Regions from separate parts of the Homo sapiens genome. Here all the other regions are linked to region 1. Evidence: promoter capture Hi-C in 16 types of primary human blood cells and fetal thymus (Javierre and others, 2016). All regions are on one chromosome and are shown on one strand. The core of a region is centred on a gene start or on the middle of the fragment in contact, and the rest is flanking DNA. Distances in the headings are between cores, read along the strand shown. Region 1 holds the start of PIGA (phosphatidylinositol glycan anchor biosynthesis class A). Region 2 overlaps PRPS2 (phosphoribosyl pyrophosphate synthetase 2). Region 3 overlaps NHS (NHS actin remodeling regulator). Region 4 has its middle 7.9 kb from the start of TLR8-AS1.

Evidence for each region. The method cuts DNA at HindIII sites, captures the fragments that hold promoters and counts their contacts. A CHiCAGO score of 5 or more calls a contact.
Region 2: a fragment that was not itself captured here is called in contact with the fragment with the promoter of PIGA in region 1 in 7 of 17 cell types (non-activated CD4 T cells, naive CD4 T cells, activated CD4 T cells and 4 more); the score reaches 19.6 in non-activated CD4 T cells.
Region 3: a fragment that was not itself captured here is called in contact with the fragment with the promoter of PIGA in region 1 in 1 of 17 cell types (total B cells); the score reaches 6.3 in total B cells.
Region 4: a fragment that was not itself captured here is called in contact with the fragment with the promoter of PIGA in region 1 in 1 of 17 cell types (naive CD8 T cells); the score reaches 5.3 in naive CD8 T cells.

What each region holds. Positions count from the first base shown.
Region 1 is chrX:15,333,842-15,337,037 of GRCh38, forward strand. PIGA (phosphatidylinositol glycan anchor biosynthesis class A) reads right to left here and starts at 1,682. Exons shown (of 6, transcript NM_002641.4): 1 at 1,660-1,682. RefSeq lists enhancers at 1,434-1,483, 1,534-1,613. The HindIII fragment of the contact is 3,001 bases long and covers 78-3,078 here.
Region 2 is chrX:12,791,582-12,794,777 of GRCh38, forward strand. It overlaps PRPS2 (phosphoribosyl pyrophosphate synthetase 2), which reads left to right. Exons shown (of 7, transcript NM_002765.5): 1 at 1-38. Among named protein-coding and RNA genes, the nearest start is that of PRPS2, 1.8 kb to the left of the region's middle. RefSeq lists a silencer at 87-536. The HindIII fragment of the contact is 1,938 bases long and covers 641-2,578 here.
Region 3 is chrX:17,733,965-17,737,160 of GRCh38, forward strand. It overlaps NHS (NHS actin remodeling regulator), which reads left to right. Exons shown (of 9, transcript NM_001291867.2): 9 at 1-2,030. It also overlaps a transcript of SCML1 not described here. Among named protein-coding and RNA genes, the nearest start is that of SCML1, 1.9 kb to the right of the region's middle. The HindIII fragment of the contact is 2,833 bases long and covers 226-3,058 here.
Region 4 is chrX:12,949,555-12,952,750 of GRCh38, forward strand. No RefSeq gene overlaps it. Among named protein-coding and RNA genes, the nearest start is that of TLR8-AS1, 7.9 kb to the left of the region's middle. RefSeq lists cis regulatory regions at 616-1,028, 1,298-1,727 and enhancers at 656-950, 1,356-1,650, 1,581-1,810. The HindIII fragment of the contact is 379 bases long and covers 1,314-1,692 here.

The DNA of each region.
Region 1 (3,196 bases), core at 432-2,931:
CTAAACTAGAGATGGGCTGTATCTGGGACCATTTTCTCAATTTAAAGTGCGAAATGTTTATCTCAGGGGTCCCCTAAAGCTTTATTAATGTGAAATGCCCACTCAATATTTAGTACTACTGTACATTCTTAGACACTTAAAGCTAAAAAGAATCTTGGATATCTAGTCAAAATCTTCCTCAGCTTTACAAATGAGATTTCCAAGGCTCCAGAAAACAAACAACTATACAATGAGAAGCCATCCTAAAGCTCTGAGTTTCCGGTTTCACCTGCAAACTCAGAAAATGCCAATTAACTGTATGTGCAAAGGCTTAACTGTCTAGTCTCTCCAACAAATTCATCTACTTTTTTTTTTTTTTTTTTTTTTTGAGACGGAGTCTCACTCTGTTGCCCAGGCTAGTGTGCAGTGGAGCGATCTCGTCTCACTGCAGCCTCTGCCTCCCGAGTTCAAGCGATTCTCCCACTTCAGCCTCCTGAATAGCTGGAATTACAGGCGCACACCACAAGCCCAGCTAATTTTTGTATTTTTAGTAGAGACGGGGTTTCATCATGTTGGCCAGGCTGGTCTCGAACCCCTGACCTCAGGTGATCCACCAGCCTCGGCCTCCCAAAGTGCTGGGATTACAGGTGTGAGCCACCGTGCCCGGCCTCATCTACATTTTAAATATACTCTCGGAAAGACCCCAGAAGTGTTTGTTGACTGAGTTTACTAATTAAGATTCAATATTACCAAATATTGAAATTCCCCAAGTTTGTACTTTTAGGTGGCTTAACTAACATTTTCTTACTGTGGTCACCTAAACCCGAACTTCCAGTTCTACCAGTTTTAAAAGATGAACGATAGCAAAAACAGTGAGTAATGAACCAAATGATATCATTTAAAATGTTGTCATTAGCCTGCAACGTTCTGTGAGGAGTCTGCCCACTTCCGCCAGGTTTTCAGTCCAAACATCTTTGACATAAAAGTTCATTATGCTGCACAATCGCAGAATCTTAGCTCTTAAAGCCGAAATGAGGCTTGGAGCTCTAGTGAATACCTCTCTCGTTTTACAAATGAGAACCCAGACAAGTTGAGTGATTTGTCCAAGGTTCCCACCCAGCCACTTAAAGTGGCAAAGACATTACCGTAAAATTCTCGACCACGACCAACGAGCCCTGGGCAATCATTAGCAGTAGAGGTTCCTGAAGAACCTTAGGGAGACCTGGCAGGAGTTGTGGGTCAAGAGAATGGTACTTCCACCGACAATTCCTGGGCACTGTCTGAGCTTCATTCCCTGATTCCCTGAGAGGTCGCTGGGGAAACGCTCGGGCCAAGGAGGGGATACCCCTGCTCAGACAGCGACCCCGCTGGGTTCATGGCGGGGATGGCCAGGCCCAAAGAGAGAAAGAAAACAACCAAAGAGTGGACGTTGGTCTCAGGCCCGGGGTTCCGGAGACCCCAGTCCCTCGACCCACCCGCCTGAGCCAAGGAACCCAGCGCGTCCGCCCTAAACGCACCCTCAGCCCCAACCTACTCTGGAGACCCTCCGACCCAACTTCCGGGCTTCGAACCGGGTCGGTTTCACCCCCTCCACCACCCGCCACGATCCCACGCGCGCAGAACAGCCCCATCCGAAAGCGGCCCAGAGCGCTGGAGAGGGGCGGCGCGACGCGCACTCACCGGTGAGTTCCATGGCCGCCAGTGTCCGGACCTCCCGCGGCTGCAGCCGGAGTCCCTCCCTGCTGTTCCGCAGCACCAATCTAGGGCGTCCGCGCCCAAGGGCCGCGCCCCCGAGGCAGCCAATCACAAAGAGGCGCTGAGGTCACGTCCGAGAGAGACGCTCTGTCGTCCCCACCCTTAAGCGCGAGATGTAACGTCAGCGCGCGCCTGCGCCCGTCTCCTAGAAGCGGCCGACGGTAGGGTGGGTGCTCACCCTGGTTTCCTGGTTACAGCGTCTCTATTCCGGACGCCAGTTCTCTGCGCGCTTGCTTCTGATTGGAGAGACTTTTTGTTTGTAATCAGCTGTGCCACGGCAAAACCGTGCCGGTTCTTACCGCTCTGGGACGTTTGCCAGATAAATAAATAAAAATACACAAAAAGTCAAAACAGATGAAACTATGAAGTTTTAATTTCAGATAAAGCACAAATGATGTTTAATACAAGCATGTACCAAATATTGGGGACTTCACTACACATTCGTTTTTTATCGGACATGTAAATTTAACTAGACATCCTGTTATTTATATGGCAATTCTACACTCTGAGGGAAACATACGAGGTCTGATCTGAAATATCAACTCCCACTCGACTGGTTCAACTAGTTACGATGGTGCTTGACTAGGAAGCTAAAGAATCAGTGAGAGTGGTATGACGGTCATCCATGCGTCACAGCTGGTACTTGGAATCCCCCATCCCTGCCATACGTGCGTTTTCGAGAAGAAATTCCTTTCTGAGTACCATCACAGCCACCGTTACTGGCACCCATTTTATTAAGCCTAGTGTAAGCCTATTCATCCCTGAAAATGTCTGCTCCTTTCTGATGCTTTCCCCAAGCCTCCAGAGAATGAAATACTCTCACTTTTTAATTTTAATAGTACTTTGGCCACATGCTGGCCAAAGTATAACATTTATCAGATGATATTCAAGTTGTTTGCCTGATTGCATTCTCCCTCCTCACCCTGATCCTTGATTACTTGTCTCTTGAGATCTCACATGGACTTCTTTCTGAAAACGGAAATTGTATTTGCTTGTTAAATGTCTGCCTTCCCTGCCAGATAGTAAACTGAGGCAGGATCTGTTCTTGGTAATGGATGTTGAGGAAGTTTTAGTTTAATACATGAATTTCTTTACCCAATGTCAGCACACTCCCTGACACATATTAGATGCTCACAATAAAATGTATTGACAGTATTTCGTGGAGTGTACCTTATACAAATTACAGTGCAATAACATCATTGAAAGAGCATTTTAGTTGTGAGATTTGAAGCGAATTAATGAGTTGATGAGTAAGACTAGAGTAGCAATCGATACTTTGCCCTGTGTTAATATTGATGAAGCATCGGAGAATTACAGTGATGAAGACTCAAGGACACTTAATTAAGCTTTATAATTTGTAGTTGGTTTCACAGATAACAGCGACATTACCAGATAGGTACAGCATTTGGCCTCCTTTCCATTTTTGTAATAGGTTTTAAGACAAAGAGTGGGGGTAGAAATC
Region 2 (3,196 bases), core at 360-2,859, 2.5 Mb before region 1:
AAGGTGGTCACGAAGAAGTTCAGCAACCAGGAGACCAGGTGGGGGCCGCGCCGGCGGCCGGGCTAGGGAGAGCGCTGGGCACGCGGCTGCGGGGCCGGGTTGGGGGCCGGCGCCTGCCCGGGCCACCTCCGCGGACGCCGCGCTCCCCCTTCCGGGGCGGGACGGTGGCAACGCGGCCTCCGCGCCCCCGCGCCCGCGCCTGCGAAGAAACCGAGGCGGGGCGCCGCGCGTCCCGATGCGCGCCTCGGCTGTGCCCCCGGTTGCAGGGCCTCCGGTCCTGGGACCGCGGCGACCCGGCGGTCCCGAGCCGCTCCCGGCCTCCCAGCGGTGCCGCCCGGCCTGGCGTCCCCAGCCCGGAAGGGAGACGTCTGGGCGGTCACAGACCGTCGGGGAGAGAGTGGGCGCAGCGGGCGGGAACCGCATCGGGTCAGCGCGCGGTGGAGAGACGTCCTGGGTTGGCTGGTCCCAGTTTCCGCGTCCCTACAAAGCTGAACCTCAGACCAGTGCGTGCGACTAAAGGTTTCCCCCCGTCCCCAACTCTGGTTGCACGCTGGGTTTACCTGGGGACGGTCCGAACGCTGCTTCCCCCGACCTGCCCCCAAGGGTTTGATCCAACGGGCGGAGGATCAGCGATTTTACAAGCTTCCCTGGCTTCTCCTGAGCAGCCAGGGCGCAGACCACTGCGTTATCCAGAGGGTGCAGTTGTGCCAAGGTTTGAAAGACTGTGAGAACCCCAGGACGCACGTGCTGGGCTCCCCTCTGCTCCCACTACTCTTGCTGCTTTAAAGATGATGGACTTTCAGCTTCCTTCTTGTTCTAGGACTCTGCTGTGTCCAGCAACAACGCCGTGATTCGACTGTAACTTTCACCCATTTCTCAAGTCCAGGAGAGCCTCAGGTGGTGGCCATCCTCGGAAGCTGACCTGGGGGGCTCCTTTGTCTATCTGCCTGAGTCCACACAGCTCCTTGACTCATTTCAAATTGGTCTCATTTTTCCCCCTTCTTCCTCCAATGTCTAGTACCGTTAACTGTCCACAGTTACTGATAATTTTTATATCTTTGGCAAAGGTTCAATTTTACCAACATTTTCTAGAAATGGTGTTGGAACAGTTGGACACCCATATGCCAAAAAATATGAACTTCCATCCATACTTTTCACCATTTGTAAAAATTAACTTTGAAGTGGATCATAGACCTAATTGTAAAATCTAGAACTATAAAATTTCTAGCAGAAAATCTTGACTTGGGGTTAGGCAAAAATTTCTTAAGGAGGAGTTATGTTAATACTGATGGGGAAGATGCTATATTTTGGCAAGTCAGCTTTTTAGGATATGTGAATCTTACGTGACTTCTTCCAGGTGGCAAATTCCAGTTATGGCTCCGATGATAATATAAGCGAAGAAACATTGTGAATGAGTGGCAGGTGGACTTTGGCTAAAGAATTCCACTCTGCAGTGTTTAATGCAGAAGTCTGAGAGGATGGTCTAGGGCTCTGGAGAAGGATAGAGCTAGGTTTGAGTGTTGCAGTATTTTGCCAGTCTTGTTCAAGTTTCAGTCGCTGTAAGAACACGAGAAGAAGAATAGTTTTTGTTCAGAAGGTGTCGTCATATAAGTAAAGGAGAAATTTGTTGATGAAGTAAATTTTGAAAGCAAATATGTTGCCCTTCCAGGTACTCAGTGCAGCATGATCTTTTGCTAAGGAGCATGGTTAATCTAGATCAGTTCACTGCTAAGTCAGTGTTGAGTTTCTCCTAAAAATACCACATGTGCCACTGGGCAAAACTCACTCAGACACTGAAGTATGATTGTTTATACATTTGGTTCAAATATAAAGCAGACTCACTTTTATTTTGTTTTTGGCATTTTATAACCATCACTTGATAATTAGAAATCGTGGGACCTCAAAAACCACTCAGCATGAAGTTTGGGAATTGCCTATATAGCTACATTTTATGTTTTTAATGTATAGAGTATAAAAGGTTCACTGCCTGACTTTTCTCTTTTCCATGAACTGTACAAGTACAGAGCTTAATTTTTATAAACAGCCCTCTCTGGACCAGTTACTGTGCTAGGAATCCAGCTTTTAGCTGTGTAATCGTAGAGAGGAAAAACTGAAGGGCAAAATGAAGACAAAATTGATTCAGTTCATGTAAGGGCCCCTTCTTGAATCTGTCACTGAACTAGGATCAGAAATCTGGTTTGCTGTCTCCTGGCCATCAATCCTCCCATTTTGCGTTTTTTATATGCTACTTTACTGAACATAGAGCCTTCCAATTTTACCTTCTTATCCCTAAATCATTTCAGATATGCAGGGAGAGGTCCGCTCCAGCTTCACTATAGACCATGGAAATTCCATGATGACATCTTAGGACAGCAGGTGTCTAGATGTCTCTGTTGTAACATTTTACTATGGTCAGTTAACCTGCTGGCAGAATCTTTAGCTATACTGTGAGACAAGGTTATGCAAAGTTATACAAGGTTATCGGTTACCATGTAATAAATAAAGAGCTTAATGGCTTAAAACAGTAATTGTTGATTTGGCTTACAAATCTGCAATTTGGGAAGGGCTCAGTGAAGAAAGCTTGTTTTTGCCGCGTATGGTCACAGCTGAGGCTGGTCACAGCTGAGGCGGCTAACTGGGGCTGGAGGGTTCTTGAAGATGGCTCACATGACTGAAGTTGTTACTAGCTTTTGCCTGGGAGCTTGGTTAGGAACCTCAGCTCCTCTTCTTGTAGGCCTCTCCATGGGGCTGCTTGAGCTTCCTTACAGCATGGAAGCTGGGTTCTAAGAGCACATGTTCCAAAAGACAGGACATTGAAGCCACCAGTCCATTAAGGACTGGGCTTGCAAGTTGGTGTATCATAATTTCTGTCATATGCTGTTGGGCAAGTACAGAGCCCTCTCAGATTCAAGGGCGGGAGACTAGACCCTGCTCCTTGATGGGAAATGTGTTAAGAGTCTGTGGCTATCTTTTAGTTACCATGCCCGTTTATTGTTGAGTCAGTGACGCTCTTCAGCGTTTTTATTTGGGGGTCAATAAAGATCCTCTGGCAGAATGGCAAATGGATGCTGCCTTCTAGCCACAATTTTTTAAAGACCTAGAATAAAGGTAGTCATGATCATCTTTTTGAGTAGAAGCAGGACTAGCTTTAGGGGAAAAGTTGCCATGGTGATGATATTCTCTGTCCTCCCCTGGA
Region 3 (3,196 bases), core at 392-2,891, 2.4 Mb after region 1:
AATCTGCAAATGGTTTTTACACCTCTGATTTTAACATGAACTTATACTAATGTTTGGAATCTTATGTCAGAAATATAAGCAGCTATGTACTTAGAATAGGTTTTGAATGGGAGAGGTAGAACAGAGAGAGAATTAAGAAGGGATCTGACTTATAAAAGACTAGAATGTGATTAGAGTGATAGAACATACCAATGTTACCAAGAAATTGACAAGCTGCTGGCTTTAAGCTTATGCAAGTGGTAGTTGGGAAAGTAGGAGGTGTGGAAGAGGGTTTGCATTTTGGATTAATTCATGCAAAATGAAGGAGGAAGCCTGGTCTAAGAAGATACTGTCTTTCAATAGAAATGATTTCTAAACTGCTACAGATTAAGAATAGATAATCTGATTGCTGTTGTTTTGTTTGTTTGGAAAGAAAAAAAATGTCTGGCTTCTTCTACTATTTGTTTTCACTACCAAACTGTGTTACTAAATTTCTTGTCATCCTTGTATGTAAAATGGGTGCTGGGGGTGGAGGGGTATAAGAGGAGGGAGAGTCAGAGAGAGTGTGTATGGGTGTGTGTGAGTGTGAGTGTGTGTGTACGCACACACACTGGGGATAGATAAGCTACCTGGTAAAGGGTTTGAACATTTACAAAATGTCACACTTTTTCTTAAAAGAAAAATATTTTGGGGTTTGAATAAAATGGACCACCATTTCTCATTGGAACCCATTAATTAAGAAAACCAGCATGGTTTGACACCACATGGGAACATGAATAAATCTGTCTCATGATTTGAAAAGTACACCTTGCAAAGTTTTAAAAATAAAGTTTTTAGGCAAATGCGATAAGAAACCGTCATTTCCAGTCACAGTAGGCGATCTTTCGTAATTTCATAAAAGCAGTTCGTTTGCAGTATGGCTTTTGTGTAGTTAGGGGTTTTTTAAGTGTGAAGAAAGGTATGTGGGCTTTAAAAGTGATTCTAAATCTTGAATAGAAAACACATGAATTGGCTTTAATAAAAATGTCACCTTTTTATTATTGACATTAAGTAATGGTACCATATATTTTTTAAAATACATATTGACTTGAATTGTGAGGCAATAAGATACCTTCTATATGTAATGATCACAGAACTAACCCTTATAATATAGTTTTACTTATTTTGTTTACTCTAAAAATCTATAGCAGAGTTTCTCTATTTTATATTTCATAGATTTAAAAAACCCAAATAAAGATGGATTTAAAATTCACTGTGGAAAAGAGTATTGAGTTACAAACTGAGAAGAAAAAGCAGGAAGTTCCCTAATAATCTGGAATATTCTACATGGCTTGATTACATAGCAAACAAGACCAAGATTTAGGGCTGTCTTTAACATCACTGCCGTCTTGAAGCAGGGTACACACGTTAGGTATTGTGAAGAACATCAATCCGAACTTTTCTTCTGTTGTTTGCACTGATGCGATTTTTTGTTCTTTTATGTTTATACAACGTATCTATGTTGTGTAGGGGAAATTTTTTCATTTTTTAAAAATTCTACTTTGGTTTTGTTGTTGTTTTGATTTGTTTTTGGCTAAGTAGAGGACATGGACTAGTTGTAGCAAACAGAACATGCTGTTTGCTCTTGCCAAAGGTCAGTGAGTGAGTGCATTTGCTGCAGTGGTGGCACGTAGAGAACTAGATGGTAATAAAGATTTAAAACTATGAAGAAGGTTACAGTGTAACTATTTTGGTACTAGAACCAGTTCATGCTGGCCGAAACGACAATGGTTTATGGACTTGCATCCATTTTGTATTTTTGTAATATTTGTAAATATGAACTTTTTAAATTGCTGCAAAGATGGTTTCTTTTGTAAGATGTTTTCAACGTTTACATTCAATCCAAGCCTTTGTATATTTTAGAGCTGTGCAACACTTTAAGTCTTGTATTTATTTTTAGTAAAAATGGTGACAGTTTCATTGTGAACCCCTCTCAAAAAAAATGTATCAGAAAAGTTTGATTACCTAGAAAGTGTGTATAGAAACTGCAAATAAACGTGACTGCAATTAAACAACCGGTTTCTCTCTTCACTGTTACGTAATTGATTTCTTGGGGCTTCGCAACAGTGTTTTACAGGCAACAGGACATAAGGGCAGGGTCTGTTATGGCAAAAGTAGGAGCAAAAAGAACATAGACCAGCCTGTCCAACATGGTGAAACCCGTCTCTACTAAAAATACAAAAATTAGCTGGGCATGGTGGCAGACGCCTGTAATCCCAGCTACTCTGGAGGCTGAGGCAGGAGAATCGCTTGAACCCAGGAGGCAGAGGTTGCAGTGAGCCGAGATCACACCGCTACACTCCAGCCTGGGCAACAAGAGCAAAACTCCGTCTCAAACAAAAACAAAAACAAAAAAAAAACATATACTATATCTATAATGGGCTTTAATCTAGCTTCGTATTTGAGAGGAAAAATGATACATTTCCAACGTCCAGTATACTTTCTTTGTAGCTCCTCTCTGGGCCAAGAAAAGATGTATAGCTTTACTTTGAAATATCTGCCTGCTTTGCTTCTGATAATTACTCAGACTGTGTCTCCTTCCCAAGATGAGCAGCCTCGATATAAGTATGTAAGACTATATGCCACTAGATGATGTCACATAGCCTTTATTACAATAGCAAAATTCTATGCCAGGTACTGTTCTAAGTGCTTTGCATACATTAACTCATGTAGTCCCCATATTATACCCATTTTACAGATGGGGAAACCGAAGCACAAAGCGGTTACTTGGCTTGCCTAAGGCCATAGGAGGACTGTGTTGGAGCTGGGGGTCCAATCCAGTAAATCTGCCTTCAAGGTCTGCGTTAGTTCCCCAGTCCAACTTGTGGGTGCTGGAGACTGGAAATATCTTGCCCGCCCCCCACCCTGGCCCCCCTCGCCCTTCCTACCAGACCTGGCTCAGGGCAACTGCTAAGGCCCCGCCCCTCTCCTCATTCCAAGTCAATCACTGGCGTGCGTCCAGGAAACCCAGTTTACGACGACGTCTCTGGTGCGTCACAGAGCGCGGGGGAGGGGCGGGATCACATTAAAAAAAAAAAAAAGCTTCGGACACCCCAACAACGAAGGGGGGACACCACGTCCCTAACTACAACGCCACTAGAAGGGTTGCGCATGCGCGCCAGCCTCCTGCGCAGCCGCAGAAACCACTCAGCGCGCGAGTCTCTGAAAGGCCTAACGT
Region 4 (3,196 bases), core at 253-2,752, 2.4 Mb before region 1:
CTTTTCTAGGCCTCTGGTTTTACCCGAGTTCTGATAATATCTGGCTTTAGGCACTCACCAGATGGTTGTGAATCTTTGCATACTTGCTGGTTTTCTCCCTAATCCCCAAGTGGCAAGAATATTCTTTTCACTTTGCATCACTTTCCACTAGCACAGCTCCTTCCCCAAGACCACAGCATAATAACTGCATTCAGAATGTGTGAGTGTGAAAATAGAGGAATGAATGAATGGGAGCTGACATTAACAATAGTACTGCACCCCAGCACCACCAGGAATCACGATGCTGAGCTGTCACTGTTGCAGAACAATTAAAAGCATCTCCTGCTAGTATCCTGAGCTACCTACCCCCTTCCTGCAGGAAAGACTTCCCGTCTTCCCACTGGCTCACAGAAGTGGCCTTTTCCTCCGGAAACCAGCGTGCATCTGTTAGCATCTTTTGTCTTTTGTGGGAAAGGGAGGATTCTGGCTCCAGACTGAAGAGGGACAGGCATGGTGTGTGGGTTCACAGAGCCCCAGACTCCAGACTCTGATGCCAGCATCTTTGTCTCAGCAAAGGTCATAATTGGATTTGGATGTTTAAGGCAGTCACTGATTTACTGTTCTCATTTTTCAAGTGTGAGAAATACTAACTCTGTGCTTTGCTTACTTCTAAAGGAACAAAGGCAGTATGAGCAGCCTTTAAATACTGCCACATAATACACTGAGAGCAGACATGACCACGTGCTACAAAGAGTCAGGGCTACGTAGGAAAGTTCACATCGGCGTGGGAAGTGAAAGTAAGCCACGTCACCGTTTCTGTCACGTGACAGCTGTGGGGTGTGGAGCAACTCACTGAGCCTCTTTCCTGGTGTGTAAGATGGGGATAATGATAGCTCCCATTCACTGACCGCTTCCAAAGTGCCTGACCCTGTTCTAAGCCTTCACTGTCATCCTGATTTTATAGTTAGACAGTTTGTCAGTGTCAGAAGCAGAATTGGCTACATAGTTTGCAAGTCCAGTGCCCTGGTTCAAAAATGATTAAGAATTTCAAGATGGTGGTAGCAGAGCAAAAAACCAAGCCCGGAGCCCTCCTTAGTGTGGCTCTTATGTGACTGCACAGGCTGCACACCCTGGGCAGAATTAGTATACAAATCCTGCAGCCTGACTCCAGAACCTTCCATCTTAACATCTATGCCACAAGAGCTGTCTCCTAAGGTGGCCGTGAGGTTGGAAATGAGACTAAGGCATTCCTGGCAGAGGGCACAGTGTGAATGATCTGGAAATACAGGCGTGGACAGGAAGATGAGGAAGGAATGATAAACTCTCATGGCTAAAGCTTTGGTGAGCTGAAGGAAACAGAAGTGTGCTGGTAGGCAGTACTGGCTGCAAACTGTGCCCTCCCTGAAGGCCAACTATAAAGTGCAAGGCCCTTGTACTTTATAGGCGACTGGTGTTGAGGATCGCTGGAAGGTTTAGAAGCAGGGGGTAGCATGGACGCAGGCAGAGAACTGCCCCTAGGGGGAAGTGTGGAGCAGAGCAGACTGGGGCCTGGGCACCCGCTAGAGGAGGCCGTTACAACCACACTCTAGGGATCTCATAGTGAGAGGCTCAGGGAGTAGAGGAAGGAAACAGGGAAAACTGAAGGTCTTCAAGGTAAGTAGAAATTATAGCTTTGGAATACGATCTGGAAACAGGAAACTGGGGGAAAGGAAAAGCTTCTGATGCCTGCTGGCCTGGCCTTCTGTTTGAGCGCCATCAGGCCCGTATGGAGTATCATGATGTACACAGACTGCCTTTGCACCCATAGAAAACAGGGTACATCTCTTCAGGAAGTAGAAACTCTTTGAGCAAAAGAAATCGATTTAACTTCCTAAAAACAACAGCTGTTACTGGCTATAAACTCAGTCATTTCTCAATTTGGGTTTTTCCCCCAAAATATTCCCTTCCAATTTTCAGAGGCATAATCAGTTCTGTGATTATGTTGCTTGCACATAATTAGATCACACAGTAATAATAATAACTGTAAACTCTGGAGGAAACAGAGTGCAATTAAAACCAGAAAGAAAAAAATCTCCCAAACCTCTCCCAGATTCTTCTCTCAAACTTGGGAGTGGGGCACCTCAAGCCCAGTGAAGGAATCAACATATTTTACCCCAAAATATATTTCTTTGACATATTTTGAGATGGCTGTTCACAGGGCCCGCAAACAGAAGCAGCCCTACAAAACTGTCTCATGTGGCGAAGATTTGCATCTGCAGAGAAAAACTACGTTGATACAGCCAGGCTTTCTCTGAGGCTCTCTCTTGTCCATATCTAGGAAAAACTGAGAGTCTGATACCTTTAAAGGTCTGAAAGAAACATTTACTATCTATTCTGTCTGAGAGCGGCTACCTCTGAGATTTCTCCTATGTAACAAGAACGCCTTTGCCAGCCAGGCCTCCTCTTCTCCCCATGCCATAATCTCTTTGCCAAGATCCAAGCCTCCAGTCTTTCTGTAACCTCAAGGCTTCTGTACCCCACTGCGGGGATTGGTAATCACTCTATGGTTCTCCTCCATGTGCACAATAAATTTGTATGCTTTTTCTCCAATTAATCTGCCTTTTAATTTATTATTATTATAAATTTTTTTTGAGACGGAGTCTTGCTCTGTTGCCCAGGCTGGAGTGCAGTGGTGTGATCTCAGCTCACTGCAACCTCCGCCTCCCAGGTTCAAGCAATTCTCCTGCCTCAGCCTCCCGAGTAGCTGGGATTACAGGTGCACGCCACCAAGCCTGGCTAATTTTTGTATTTTTAGTAGAGACAGGGTTTCACCATGTTGGCCAGGCTGGTCTCAAACTCCTGACCTTGTGATCCGCCTGCCTTGGCCTCCCAAAGTGCTGGGATTACAGGCGTGAGCCACCATGCCCGGCCTATTATATATATTTTAATGCTCTCTCTCAGCAGAGTCAAGAGGATTAGTTATCGGTGTGTTGGACATACTGAGTATAGGGGGTCTGTGGGATATGTAAGAAGAAATGACTACTGGGCTGTTGCATATGTGGTTCTTCATCTCATTTTGTTTTAGAGCCAGAGTCTCACTCTGTCACTTAGACTGGAGTTCAGTGGCGAGGCTTTTTTTTTTTTAGACAGGGTCTTAACTCTGTTGTTTAGGCTGGAGTGCAGTGGCACAATCATAGCTCACTGTAACCTTGAACTCCTGGGCTCAAGCAACCCTCCC